2 separate regions of the Homo sapiens genome follow, and region 2 is linked to region 1. The links are contacts of gene promoters, found by promoter capture Hi-C in human tissues and cell types (Jung and others, 2019). All regions are on one chromosome and are shown on one strand. Each heading gives the region's core, a stretch centred on a gene start or on the middle of the fragment in contact. The rest is flanking DNA. Distances are from core to core; before and after follow the strand shown.

The links. The method cuts DNA at HindIII sites, captures the fragments that hold promoters and counts their contacts. A contact is called where the count stands out against the background at its distance.
Region 2: a contact is called between a fragment that was not itself captured here and the fragment with the promoter of TAX1BP1 in region 1, in 1 of the 25 tissues and cell types used here (H1 embryonic stem cells).

What each region holds. Positions count from the first base shown.
Region 1 is chr7:27,738,213-27,742,693 of GRCh38, reverse strand. It overlaps TAX1BP1 (Tax1 binding protein 1), which reads right to left and starts at 2,532. Exons shown (of 17, transcript NM_006024.7): 1 at 2,425-2,532. TAX1BP1-AS1 (TAX1BP1 antisense RNA 1) reads left to right here and starts at 2,019. Exons shown (of 2, transcript NR_187572.1): 1 at 2,019-2,678. RefSeq lists enhancers at 871-1,734, 2,249-2,518, 1,735-2,597 and a silencer at 1,849-2,081. The HindIII fragment of the contact is 10,372 bases long and covers 873-4,481 here.
Region 2 is chr7:27,218,521-27,222,819 of GRCh38, reverse strand. No RefSeq gene overlaps it. Among named protein-coding and RNA genes, the nearest start is that of HOTTIP, 20 kb to the right of the region's middle. RefSeq lists an enhancer at 2,149-2,710. The HindIII fragment of the contact is 3,563 bases long and covers 1-3,066 here.

The DNA.
Region 1 (4,481 bases), core at 1,283-3,782:
GAGTTCGACACTAGCCTGACCAACATGGAGAAACCTCGTCTCTACTAAAAATACAAAAATTTGCCGGGTATGTGTGGGGAAAAGCAAGAGAGATCAGACTGTTACTGTGTCTGTGTAGAAAGAAGTAGACATAGGAGACTCCATTTTGTTCTGTACTAAGAAAAATTATTCTGCCTTGAGATTCTGTTAATCTATGACCTTACCACCAACCCCGTGCTCTCTGAAACATGTGCTGTGTCAAACTCACGGTTAAACGGATTAAGGGTTGTGCAAGATGTGCTCTGTTAAACAGATGCTTGAAGGCAGCATGCTCCTTAAGAGTCATCACCACTCCCTAATCTCAAGTACCCAGGGACACAAAAACTGTGGAAGCCTGCAGGGACCTCTGCCTAGGAAAGCCAGGTATTGTCCAAGGTTTCTCCCCATGTGATAGTCTGAAATATGGCCTCGTGGGAAGGGAAAGACCTGACCATCCCCCAGCCCGACATCCGTAAAGGGTCTGTGCTGAGGAGGATTAGTATAAGAGGAAGGCATGCCTCTTGCAGTTGAGACAAGAGGAAGGCATCTGTCTCCTGCCCGTCCCTGGGCATGGAATGTCTCAGTATAAAACCCGATTGTACGTTCCATCTACTGAGATAGGGAAAAACCGCCTTAGGGCTGGAGGTGGGACATGTGGGCAGCAATACTGCTTTGTAAAGCATTGAGATGTTTATGTGTATGCATATCTAAAAGCACAGCACTTGATTCTTTACCTTGTCTATGATGCAAAGACCTTTGTTCACGTGTTTGTCTGCTGACCCTCTCCCCACTATTGTCTTGTGACCCTGACATAGCCCCCTCTCGGAGAAACACCCACAAATGATCAATAAATACTAAGGGAACTCAGAGGCTGGCGGGATCCTCCATATGCTGAACGCTGGTTCCCCGGATCCCCTTATTTCTTTCTCTGTACTTTGTGTCTTTTTCTTTTCCAAGTCTCTCATTCCACCTAACGAGAAACACCCACAGGTGTGGAGGGGCAACCCACCCCTTCAGTGTGGTGGTGCGCGCCTGTAATCCCAGGTACTCAGGAGGCTGAGGCAGGAGAATCGCTTGAACCTGGGAGGCGGAGGTTGCAATGAGCCGCGATCGCGCCACTGCACTCCAGCCTGGGAGACAGAGCAAGACTCCATCTCAAGGAAAAAAAAAAAAAAAGAACGTGATGACTAGAAAACAAAAACTACAATGTTCTTTGAAGTTGAACAATCAGTTTGAAAAATAAATAAAACCTTATTAGAAGTCGGCATCATCAAACAATCCTTCAAGTTTACCCTTGAAAGGAACAGAACGAAAGAGAAAGGCTGTCCTAAGCTCCTTCCCTAAACCCGAAAAGCACTTTGAGGACGATCGACCCACTTTTAGTTTCTATTCAAATGATCTCTTTAAATCCTTTAGGAATTGAGCACCAAACTTGTAACTATTAATTGTTCGTGCACAGCTCGTAGAAATTTTAACATTAGCAGAATGCAGACAGCTGAAAAATCAAGATTTATTTTCCCATCTAAAGCCTAACATAATAGCAATTCATAACCACTGTGTGAAACCGGAAATCTAACACTGTGTATGTCTAAAGTCAAATGCCAGTGTTTTCTAACAAAACTTTTACCAATAAGGTGTGTACACACACCCACACAGACGCACGCTAAGCTCAATTTTTTACTAATAAGGTGTACGCGCGCGCGCGCACGCTAAACTCTAGCCACAGATTCCCTAAGCCAGGAGTGCAAGTCGGTCGGGACTAGTCCACACCTTGCGAACGGGGCGGGGTGGGGAATGGATTCCAGGTGAAGCAGGCCATCAGCCAGAACCGCCAACTCCGCCCGCGGCCCTCAAAAGTAGGCGGCGCAGGGAGTCTCCGCCCCCTTCGCCACCGGCGACTCAAACCAAAACAGCTGGGTTTCTCTCCGCAAAGGCAAACCCCAGCGTCCTTCTCGGACGCGACCTACGTGTTTTCTCAGCTTACTGCGCCGGTAAAACCCACACTGCCCTCAAAACAGTCACCCCAGAGTTTAGCCTTGGACACCAGAAGCTTTTCCTTCGGGGGTCGCCAGCGTCACTCGTCCCCAGCCAAAGGGCCCCCGTCCCACACGCCTCCCCCAAATCGCGAAGGCCTGTCCCACGGGCCTCCCACCGCGTGGGGCGGCCACCCGTTGCCATTCCAAAACTCCACAGCTGATCCGAGTCGCCCACACCCCCGTCACAATCGCAGTCTGGAAAGGAAGGTTTGTCTTCGGGAAGGAAAGCCTCGTCACCACAGAGACCTCTCCCGAGACCGGCCAGGCCCCTACAGTACAGGGGCTGAAGGGTGTAGCACGAGCCCTAAAAGAGATGCAGCTGGAGGCCGCCCCGCACAAGGCGCTGGGGTGGACCGGGGAGGCGCCTTACCCAGTGGAAAGACTCCCGGATCAAGGGAGAAAGTTACGCAGGCTTCCGATCCTGATCCGCCATCAGCCGCCGAACCTCTTCCGCCACTACCGCCTACCCCCAAAGACCGGCTACACCTCCCCTCCCAGCCGACAGTAGGCCTTGCGTCACTTCCGCCCACGGGGCGGTCTCTTCCGCCTCCTGCCTGGTTCGCCGCTCCCCTCCGCGACGACACGCCCCCAGCCCACTCCGCCGCGGGACGCCTCATCCCGCGGGTAGGCTGGCTCTCTCCTTACTTCGTCCTTGCTATTTTCGTTCAACTTAATCGCAGCAAAACAATGCGTCTGGATTTACATTCTGATTTTATGTTATTATTTTGACATACGAAAGGGGGAAACACACAGGAGGTTTAAGTAACTCACCAGCGATGTGGAAAGGGCAGCTCAGAGGTCCATGGACAGTACCGTATCCCTGTCTGCGTCTCAGTCGGCCTAAACTAGCCCACTCATTTTATAGATAAGGAAATAGCCAGAGAAGCAAGGGAGTGACCACACGGCTAGGGCTGCAAACCCCTGAGCACCAAGACTGTCTCTGAACTCCTGGCCCAGTCGTGTGCTTTTTTGGCTATGAAGTTTTGTTCACTGAAAGCTCCTAGGAGCTTTTCAGTTCTAATGCCCTCTGATTCTATTTGCTCTCGCTCCAGCAGAGGCCTCTTTTCTAGCCGCATTTCTGTGAGTTACCTGCTTTTGTTATCCGTATCATTTTCCGTGTGTGAATTTTCTCCCGCGTTCTGTTATTTCTAAAATCACTTTTGCTTGTTGTATATGTTGCCTTCCTATATTGGACATTCAGTTTGAATCGTAACTCCACAGAAGCAAATGTGTCCCATTCGAATTCATCATAGTCTTCTGTTGCCGTAAAACCCTGACAAACCTTGCAATAGCACCAGAAAGGATATGTAAATTAGATCGCATTAAATGTTGAAGCACATTCTAAATACAGAACATTCAAAATTATCTTTCATATACTTTCATCTTTACTTCCAGTTATTTCAGAAGACATTAGCTTTGATAACATAGGTTCTCAATATTTACAGACTGATTTGTTTCCTGTGTATTGACATTTTTGAACTTGGTCTTGTGCTGGGTATTATACTTGATCATAGAATTTCAGAAGAACCTTAATAGGCCATTTAGTCCCAGTCTCCTTATTTTATGGATGAAGAAAACGGTGTGAATAATCAACATAAGTTATCACTTGCGTTACTGGTAGCAACCTTCTGGTAGTAGAAATAACTGTGTCCCTTAAGAAATGTAAACATAGCAGTGAATTTTATAAGCACAATTTGTCAGAGATGTCACTCTTTGTTTAAATCACATTCCTATTTATATGTAATACATTTTTAATTACCACTAATTTTCAGTTAATGAAATCAGAAAAACAGTATGCTTAATAAAAACCATAATTGAAAGACTTTTTTTTTTGCCCTGAGAGGGACGGAGTTTCGCTCTTGTTGCTCAGGCTGCAGTACAGTGGCGCGATCTCGGCTCACTGCAACCTCCGCCTCCCGGGTTCAAGCAATTCTCCTGCCTCAGCCTCCCAAGTAGCTGGGATTACAGGAGCCAGCCACCACGCCTGGCTAATTTTTGTATTTTTAGTAGAGAGGAGGTTTCGCCGTGTTGGTCAGGCTGGTCTCAAAGGACATTTTCACAGGTATTTTTACTTTGTTATTTTTAATTATTTCTTGAATTTTTAGACCTTATTTTCCCCAGGAAGGTATTTGTTCTGGAATTTTAGCTTGCTTCATTCATTTTAATAATGATCCTTTAATTTTTAGACCAAGTTTTTCCCACCAAGATAAATAGATACCCTCTTAGTATTTAATTGAATTTCTGGGTTTTGGGGGAGTAGGGTTTGGGTTTTTTGTTTGTTTGTTTTTTGAGACAGAGTCTCGCTCTGTCACCTAGGGTGTAGTGCAGTGGCATGATCTCGGGTCACTGCAACCTCCACCTCCCAGATTCAAGCAATTCTCCTGCCTCAGCCTCCCCAGTGGCTAGGATTACAGGCGCACACCACCA
Region 2 (4,299 bases), core at 36-2,535, 520 kb after region 1:
CTTTTCTGGGCATTTTAGACAGACATAATCACACAACAGGTAGTCTGTTGGGTCTGGCTTCTTTCACTTAGCACAATTTTTGAGGTTCATCCATGCTATAGTAAATATCAGTAGTTCCATACGGTTTTATCACCTATAAAATCAGAATGAATTTTTTCTGCCATGTCTAAGAGAATCATATAAGAATATTGATAATATATATTGAAAGCTAACTAGTATTGCATCTACATTACTTTAGGCACTGAGCTAAGTGCTTTATTTGCATCATAGAAATTAAACTGCACAACAGCCTTATGGGCTAACTAGGTGATATTGTTACATCCATTTTCGAGTTGAGGAAGCTAAAGTTAAGAAAAATATAAACAGACTTGCCGAAGGTCACAAAGCAAATAGATGGCAGAGTGGTGGCTCAAATCTAGGTGTCTGTAACTCCAGAGCCAAAGACAGAGTCACCTTGCATTCAAAACACCAAAGGCTCTTTGCACTCAGTACCCTTCCATCATCACGAAAACAAACACACAAAACCCAGGGAAGTCTTCCTATCAACCCCACTAAACATGGAGAAATGGCCAGTGCTTTGTCAACTGTAAATCTCCACTCATATGGAAGGAATTCTTACTCCATCATTTTCTCCATACCTGACACTGCCCTTGTTAGAGAACTTTTAACCCCCTTGGGAAGGCACTGGTGGCCTGAAGGACTTAGGTCTGCTGATGAGGATTCTGATTTCTGATGAGGTTGCCTTAGGGAGTGCCCTGGTGCCTCTCCAGGCCAGGGAGCCCAGGAAGGGAGGTTGGACCTTTACCCAATCATCCTGTATTCACAAGGGATGAATGTGTAGGGAGAAAACTACTTAGGGATCTATGCCTCCTACTGTTAATTTTTAGGTTGGGATTCATGGCAGCACCTTATAACAATTAGGCTAGACCTTCCAACCTACTACCTCCTTTCTTAAAGAGGGAAGAATGGAGACAAATAAGCTTTTGGGGGAGTGTCAAAGAGTGAATAATAATTGTGGCTAACTTTTATTAAACTCTCAGTGTGTGCCCAGGCACTGTTCTAAAAGCTTTCTGCATAAAATATAAAATGAGTAGTGTTATTATCTTCATTTTTGAGATGACTGCTTTAGAAGACTGCTCAGTAGAAGGATTCTATTTGCACAAGAAGAAACGCTCTTCTCTAAAGCCACCTATGAGAACTTCTCAGTTGGTAAAGTAGTGAAACCTTCTTGGGATTTCATGATGAGTCACAGGCCTCACATTTCTTCCAGCAGCTCTGCCAAAGACATTCACCTGCAAATGTGTATTATCATGAATGTGTGGATAACATTTGTGTTAGTAATCATAAATACAAGAAGCCACACTCAAATTGTGTCCTATTATTTCTGAAATACACCCAAGCCACCCTCATCAGTCACAGGAAGTAGGGTCCTTAGTGTGAAGGCCAGCCGCCTCATTCCACTGAGGAGTTCCAGAGAGATCACAGGAGGTAGCCAGGGTGTTTAGTGACAGAATGGAGCCGAAAACCCATCTCCAGTCCCAGAAGAAGCAAGTACTCAGGTAAATTCATCCCAGATCAACAGCAGGTAATGTAGAGAAGAGGCCTCTTACTGACAACACTTTATTGCAGTGTGCAATACTCTCACACATTGCCAATAAGTTTTACAGAATCATTTATTTGTTGAATGAAAATAAATATTTGTTGGTGTTAGATGATCTTATGACTTTTGCACTTTTTGTACATAGTATTTCAATAAAGTATACCAAAAGGACACGATGCAAAATTAATATTTTAGAATGAATACAGAAGTGCCTAGCACAGCACCTGTCATATAGTAGGTGGGCATTAAAAGCGTGTTCATGGAATACATGATCTCGTTTGTTCCTGTCCCCTATGGGCAGGCAAGCACGTATGCTCCTGTCAGGGGTGTCATTCTTAAGCTTTCTTCACAGATGAGAAGTTCCCTGACTGCGAGGGTCACGCTGCTGGTTAGGGGCGCAAAGCCCCGGGTTCCTCCCACCGAGCGGAAGAGGGTGGATCACGGTTTGCACTGGGCCGCGGCCGCGCGGGGCGGGTCCACCCACATCCCCGGGCAAGCCGGGCAGGCGGGAGGCTGCTCTGCAAACACGAAGCCCCGAGCGAACTCTGAGGACGCGGCCAGGTCGGGAGGAGGCCTCACCGCACCTCGGCCCGGCCTGCAGGGTCCCCGCCAGCCCCGCGGCCCGGCCTCCTCCGTGGGGCTGTGGTTTCTCGCGGTCGCGGCCTGGCCCGGCCCCGCCCGACCGCCACACCAGGTCAGTCTGGCGGCGGTGTGTCCCTCGGTTCGTGCATCCTGCGCCTGGGGGCCCTTGCCCCAGGGATGGTGCCCTCTCACTCACCCCGGGGAGGAGGGGGGACTTCTCATCACTCGCGGATAACTTATAAGATGGGGCTGGCAGTGGCACGGGGGAAATACAGAAATGTAAGACGCATGCAGCTTTTCCTTATGAGAACCTTCTTAAAGCAAGCAAGGCCTCAATTCAAAATCAAAGCCTCCCAACTAAGTTTCCCCTTTACCAGGGCTTCACTGCAGGTGCTGGGCTTCCTCCTATGGACCGGTTCAGAGCAACTCACAGAGGCTCTCTGCCACCCAGCCACGGGACCTTGCCCAAGTCACTGACCCTCTCTGCCTGTTTCCTCATCTGTAGAATTTGGGTAACACAAGTACCTACCACATGGGGATATTGTGAGGGTTCGATGAGATCATCCCTGCAAAGCACAGCACCTGGTAGGTGCCAGACAATGCCTCCTTTACCCTCCCTTCCCCTCTAGCCCAAGAGCCAGAGTTTGTTCCCAGCATCCTCCTTGCATCTCCACCTGGGACGGCCCCTCTCCACCTGTCCAGGTCATTATCTCAGCCTCCTTGCTGCCCACCCTCAGCCAGACCCTGACACCCCACACCACTTGGCACCCGGTTCATACTGCTCCATCCCTAGGTTCTTATCTCAGCCTTTGGTGCAATCATTTATGTAGCTGTGTCACCCTCCATGTTTCCTTCACACGCAAACCCACGCATGTATGCACATTCTTATAGATGTGAAGGCTGCCTGAGGGTAAGGACCACCATGCTCACCTTAGTGCCAAGTGGGGCCAGGGACCTAGACCGCAGCATCGCACGTTACTAGCCCAGTGTCTGTTCTGAGGAGGCTGTGGGCTGTGGATAGAGAAGGCCAGCTCCACCTCCAGCCTCCCCTCCCCACCCCACCCTCCACAGCCCCTCCCCATCCCTGCAGCTGGTGGTGCTAAAGAGTAAACCTCCCCCCTTCCCCCAACTCAGAGGCCATATTCACCCTAGCCGTGGTGACAGGTTGATGACTCCTATTACAGGCCCCTTTCCTCTTCTGGGGGTTCCTGCCTGTATGGAGCCTGGTGGAGGGGCCACCAGCAGGGCCGGAAACCTGGGGAGAACGTCTCTGGCTGCCACTGATTTCTGTTCCTAGAACTGATGTTTTTCTGCAATTACAAACTTCCCTCCTTCATTATGTCTCCCTTGTTCCCGAGGCAGTAAATACCGGGGATATATATTACATTTCCCATAACTTACTTTCAATTATCAGAAAGGCTTATATTAATAGACACACTGTGGACAAGGAATCCGGCCCCAAAGCTCAGAATGAGGCTTCCAGAGCAGTGGCTACATCCTTAGAGATGCCCACCTCCCCAACAGCTGTCCCCTGGGCCACTGTCCCTACCCAGCATATTAACAATTGGCAGCAGAAATTAGTCATTGAAAATATGGACCCAGCTGGGTGAGGTGGCTCACGCCTGTAATCCCAGCACTTTGGGAGGCCGAGGTGGGCAGATCACCTGAGGTCGGAAGTTCGAGGCCAGCCTGACCAACATGGAGAAACCCTGTCTCTACTAAAAATACAAAAATTAGCCAGGCATGGTGTCGCATGCCTGTAATCCCAGCTACTCGGGAGGCTGAGGCAGGAGAATTGCTTGAATCCGGGAGGCGGAGGTTGCAGTGAGCCAAGATCGCACCATTGCACTCCAGCCTAGGCAACAAGAGTGAAACTCTGTATTGAGAAAGAAAAAAAAAAAAAAGGAAAGAAAGAAAGAAAATAGAAAATATGGACCCTAAATCCAATGCCTCAGTCCAATCCTAGTGTTGTCCCTTAGTAGCTGGATGACCTTGGGCAAGTTACTTAAGCTTTCTAGGCCTCTGTTTCACCATCTGTGAGATGAAGATGATTATAATAGTTCCTAGAGGTGTTCAACAGATTACATGAGTTAATATTTGTAAAGTGATGACCACTC